Linked DNA regions of Homo sapiens: region 1 is linked to region 2. Evidence: promoter capture Hi-C in human tissues and cell types (Jung and others, 2019). All regions are on one chromosome and are shown on one strand. The core of a region is centred on a gene start or on the middle of the fragment in contact, and the rest is flanking DNA. Distances in the headings are between cores, read along the strand shown.

Region 1 (2,700 bases), core at 167-2,666, 170 kb before region 2:
TTTTGCTATCATCACTGGCTCACAGTCTTGCTTACTTTCTAGCCCTGAGAGTTTAGGATAACCTGCTAAGCAGGTGTATTTGAAATGGGGGTATTAAAATAAACTCTTGGGAAAGTATTTTTAAAAAGACATATGCAGTCTTGTCCTAGAGATATATATTTGTACATTAGACTCATATTCCTGACATTATTCTGGAAAGGTGAGGTTATCTTATACACATTTATTGTCACAAATACTGAACTAATAGCCCTCTTTTATCACTCAGAAGGAACATGCTGGAAATAGTCTATCTCCAAAAAAATCTGGCTTTAAAAAGGATGAATTTAAGCCACACCAATTCATGTTAAATTGCCAGTAGATGGAAACTATGTTACCACAACTCACTGAATTGCTAACTTTTCTGTGAAAGAATTAAAACGAGGTTTGTATTTTCTGTTTCCATGTGACCATGATTCCTTACTCTTAATAACTGTGAAATTGAGTTAGAAGTAAAATGTGACAGGCGGGAAGCCTCCAGTACACACAGTAGGGAGTGACTCTTCTCTCCACCTGCTCTAGGATGCCAGGATCTCACTGGTGAGAAGATTCACCCTCTTCTCCTGCAACTTAAAGGGAAAAATGTAAAATCCAAATTCTGGTTTGGTAAGCTGGGTACAAACCATTGTCTATTAGATTATCCTCAATCAATGCTGTCCCTAAACCCTTCTTTCCACTAAAGATGAATGGGGGAGATGCTTATTTATTCCTTTATAGATCTGCAAAACATCCATCATAACCTCTATATGTTTGTAGCATCCAACACTTAAGCTACTTCTCCTTGAAAATCTTTTTTTTTCTTTTTTTTCTCTTTTTTTTTTTTTGAGATGGAATCTCACTCTGTTACCCAGGCTGGAGTGCAGTGGCATGATCTCAGTTCACTGCAACCTCCGCCTCCCAGGTTCAAGCAATTCTCCTGCCTCAGCCACCCAAGTAGCTGGGACTACAGTTATGCACTACCATGCCCAGCTAATTTTTGTAATTTTAGTAGAGATGGGGTTTCACCATATTAGCCAGGCTGGTCTTGAACTCCTGACCTCAGGCAGTCCACCTGCTCAGCATCCCAAAGTTCTGGGATGACAGGTGTGAGCCACCACGGCCAGCCTGAACATCCTTTTTGCTATTCAAAACAGATAAGGGAAAGAGAGGCCTGATTAGCACCCCAAGTCCAAGGAAACAGAGAAGAGGAGCCTGAACAGTTACTCACAGATAGAGGAGTATCAGGCTGACAGCCAGGAGAAGCCAGGTTTCCACGGCCAAGTTTGGGATGAGATCCATCACTACTTTCCTTCCTTATCTCTCTCCTCTGAGTCTTTTTTTCAGCAGCGTGCTGCTGTTTGCTGGGCTGTGTGTGTGGAGCTTTCCTGCCCTGCACAGCAGTGATTCAGTGAGGCTGTTGGATTGTTTATATGCTGGAGAAGGAGGCAGGGCTGGAGCTGCAGCCAGTAGCAGGGCCCCCGTGCTCTGCCTGCAGTCGGAAGAGGCTTCTCCACCTCGGCAGTTGGCAAATAATCACACACACACCACTCACTGACCTCCATTGAGTTAATATTCTATGTAGAATCATACACAACTCAATCAATGTTACTGGGGAGTCCAAGGGTTCTGGGTTCTTATCACAAACTCAAGTGGAGCCATTGGCATAAAATCTATTAACTCTCCTCTTGTCTCTATGGCTGTCCTCATTCCAGAATACTTGAAACTCATCCCAACAAGCCATGCCTACAGATCTTTACCTATGCCTGGAGTGTGCCTGTGCCCCCTAGAAGACTCCTACACATCCTTTCATACCCAGCCAGACAGAGCCTTCTCTTAGAGTCTTTCCTCACCAACCCCCTCACACAGAAGTAACCATTTCCTCCCCTGGGCACTTTCCATCCCCTTCATGCAGTTCTATTGTCTTCTTTCCTCTTTACCACCATTGTGTGTTTCCAGGCCTGTTTCCCTTAGCAGAGGTGAGCTCCTCAAGGGCATAGTCTGGTCTTACTCACTCTCATGGCTCTGGTCCCTATCAGGGTGCTGTACACACAGTGGGGACCAGAAAGGCTGGTGGAGTTGACTTGGCTGAGATTGCTGGGCCCCTGTGTGTCACTTCCTCTGACTTTCTGGTGACCACTCCATCTTCTTAGGTCATTAATACAGCCAGAGCTCTTGGCTGTGCCTCAGCTGCTGTCTCTGCACTTTCAGATTTGTCCTCTGTGATTCTGTTGGCAAGAGGACCCCTAAAAAAGAGACATGGCATGGATGAGATGGAGCTGATGGCTTAGTGGAATAGCATCAATTTGTGCTTCTTCCTCTGTAGCTTTCAAAAGTCCTGCCGTAGATAGAAAGTTAGACAGGTTCTTTGCCAAAGAGTGGCCCCTTCTCTCTGGAAATACTGCATGTCTGGAAACAGTAGGGGAGAAAGAAGAGAAGAGAACAGCTGCCCAGATGGCCAGGTTGACCCAAACCACCTCAGCCAGCAACAATGGGGCAGTGGTCACTGCAGGTCACACAGCATCAAGGACTCCAATGAGGTGGTCCCAGCCTCTTGAGGGTGGAATTGGAATTCAAAGCAAATGGCTTCCTTTTTGACAAGTGGAGGATTTTCTAATGGGAGGAGAGCAGGTGCCAGGAGCTGGTAGAGATGAGGCCTGTAATAACAGTTGCTGCCACCTGTGAGCC
Region 2 (2,700 bases), core at 181-2,680:
TTACCATCGCAATTCCTTTTTAAAGGAATAAATAATGACAATAATATATATTTATTCGTGTCATTACCATTTCTGGTGCTCTTTTATTCCTTTGTGTAGAGAGATTTCCATCTGGCATTTTCCTTCTGTCTGAAGGACTTCCTTTAAGACTTCCTTTCTTGAAGTGTCAGTCTGCTGTAAACTCTTTCTTTTAAGCTTTAGTTTACCTCCAAACTTATTTATTTCACCTTTGTTTTTGAAGGATATTTTTTGCCAGTTCTAGAACTCTAGGTTAACAGTTTTTTTCTTTCAGGACTTTAAAGAGTTTGCTTACTGGCATTGTTTCCAATGAGAAGTGTAATGTCAACTTCGTCTTTGTTCCACTGCAAGTAACTATCCTCTCCCCTGGTTGCATTTAAGATTTTCTTTTTAACACTGGTTTCCAGCAAGTTATGATGAGCCTTGGCATATTTTTCTTCATATTTCTCATACTCAGGGTTTGTTGAGCATCTTGGATCTGTGGACTTAGTTTTTATTATATTCAGAAAATCTTTGGCCATTATGTCTTCAAGTATTTTTCCTATTCCATCTCCCTCCCCACTCCTCTCTTTCAGGGACGCCAATCACCATAGATAATAAGGCTGCATAAAGTTGTCCCACAGGTCACTGATGCTCTTTGTGTTTTTGTAAATTGTTTTATTCTGTGTATGTTTCATTTTTTTGTAGTTTCCATTGCTCTGTCTTCAAGTTCACCAATTTTTTCTTTTGTAATATTTAATCAACTATTAATCCCATCCAGTGCATTCTTCGCCTTAATCACATTTTTCATCTTTAAAACTTTGATCTGGTCTCTATGTACCTCTTTACAGAATACACTCATAATAAATGTTTTAAAGTCCTTCCATGCTTATTCTAACATCTGTGTCAATTCTAGGTCAGTTTCAGTTGATTATTTTCCTCCATTATGGGTCACTGCTTTCCTATCTTTTTGCATGCATATTTGACTGGATGCCAGACATTGTGAATTTATATTGTTAGGTGCTCTTTTTTTGTTTATTTCTACCAATTTTCTAGGGCTTTATCCTGGGATGCAGTTAAGTTAGTTGGAAAGAGTTTGACCCCTTTGGGTCTTGCTTTCATGATTTGTAAGGTGGGTGTGGAGCAGCACCCAGTCAAGGGCTAAATATTTTCTGCTAATGAGGCAAGATTTTCCTGAGTACGCTACTCAGTGCCCGTGAACTACGAGTTTTCTGGTGTGGCTGATAGGAACTGGCACTGTTCCTGGCCCTGTGTGAGCACCAGGAACCGTTCCCTCTAATCGTTTTAGAAGCTTCTATCTCCAGCCTTGAGTAGATTTTCACAGGCATGTGCTGATCAGAACTCTGCCAAACAACTAGGAAGCTCCTCCATAGATGGCGAGGGTTCTCTCTGTGTCCGGCTCTCTCCGCTCCAGGATACTGCCCAGTACTTTGCGAACTCTCACTACTTTGTTCTCCGTGAACTCCCAGGTCTATTCCTCAACTCAGCAAGTCTCCCTGGCTCTACCTCAGTTACCTCAGCCTTACATGGTCTGGAAACTCCCTCAGGCAGAGGGTAGGGCAATCATAGGCTGACCTCATTTGTTTCACATTTCTCAGGAATCACCGTCCTTCACTGCCTGACGTCTGGTGCTTTGAAAACGGTTGTTTCACATATTGTGCCTGTTTTGTTTTTGTGTTTTTATTTTAGTTGCTGCAGACAAGAAAACAACTCGTTTATTTACTCCATTTTGGCTAGAAGTGAACACCCACAACATGGTTCTTTTTAGTTTGTTTGTTTTTTGAGACAGAGTCTCACTCTATCGCCCAGTCTGGAGTGCAGTGGATACAATCTCAGCTCACTGCAACCTCCACCTCCCAGGTTCAAGCGATTCTCCTGCCTCAGCCTCCCGAGTAGCTGGGATTACAGGTGCACACCACTATGCTCAGCTAATTTTTGTATTTTAGTAGAGACAGGGTTTCACCATGTTGGCCAGGCTGGTCTCGAACTCCTGACCTCAAATGATCCGCCTGCCTCGACCTCCCAAAGTGCTGGGATTACAGACATGAGCCTTCGTGCCCGGCCTACAACATGGTTCTTAATCAAACATGTGCACATAAGAATCACCAGCACAGCTTCTAGAGCATGTACCTGCCTTGGTGCCTCCCTGGAGATCCAATGAGTTTATTTTCAGTCTGTCCTACACTCTTCTTCTCAACCTCAACCTCTACCTTTCCTCAAAATACACCTTGTTCTTTAGCCTCTTTGGATACCCACCCCTCCATGTTCTCCACACCTTAGCTCATGCTGCTGCTTCTGCTTGAAACAGTCATCCCTGTTTTCCACCTGCCAAACTCCTACTAATCCCTCAAATCTCAAAACTGTCGCCTCTGCTGTGAAAACTTTCCCATCTCGCCCCCAACAGAGCCCTTCCTCTGAATTTCTGTAACATTTTATTCCTACCACCAGCAAACACTGGCTCCTACTATATCACTGTGAGTGCTGTGTGTCTGTCTCTCCAATGTGCTTACGAACTCATGAAGAAGTGAACAGGTCTCTTCTTTTTGTATCACTAGCACCTTGTAACAGTGCGTTAAATAAATGTTTCTTGAATGAAGTGTATACCCATTTATTAACCACCTTTCCTGACACTCTATTAGCTGCATGCTGTTTCCTCTTTCCTCTCCAGACTTCTCTCTTTAT

Evidence for each region. Contacts are between HindIII fragments. The study calls those that stand out against the background at their distance.
Region 1: a contact is called between the fragment with the promoter of CYP3A7 here and a fragment that was not itself captured in region 2, in 3 of the 25 tissues and cell types used here (adrenal gland, mesendoderm cells and thymus).

Annotation. Positions count from the first base shown.
Region 1 is chr7:99,733,780-99,736,479 of GRCh38, forward strand. It overlaps CYP3A7 (cytochrome P450 family 3 subfamily A member 7), which reads right to left and starts at 1,417. Exons shown (of 13, transcript NM_000765.5): 1 at 1,244-1,417. The coding sequence starts at 1,314. It overlaps CYP3A7-CYP3A51P (CYP3A7-CYP3A51P readthrough), which reads right to left and starts at 1,417. Exons shown (of 15, transcript NM_001256497.3): 1 at 1,244-1,417. The coding sequence starts at 1,314. It also overlaps a transcript of ZSCAN25 not described here. RefSeq lists promoters at 1,314-2,700, 1,314-1,556 and enhancers at 1,562-1,592, 2,577-2,700. The HindIII fragment of the contact is 8,535 bases long and covers 1-2,700 here.
Region 2 is chr7:99,900,465-99,903,164 of GRCh38, forward strand. The region is part of intron 5 of TRIM4 (tripartite motif containing 4); the gene reads right to left. Among named protein-coding and RNA genes, the nearest start is that of TRIM4, 18 kb to the right of the region's middle. The HindIII fragment of the contact is 4,226 bases long and covers 1-2,700 here.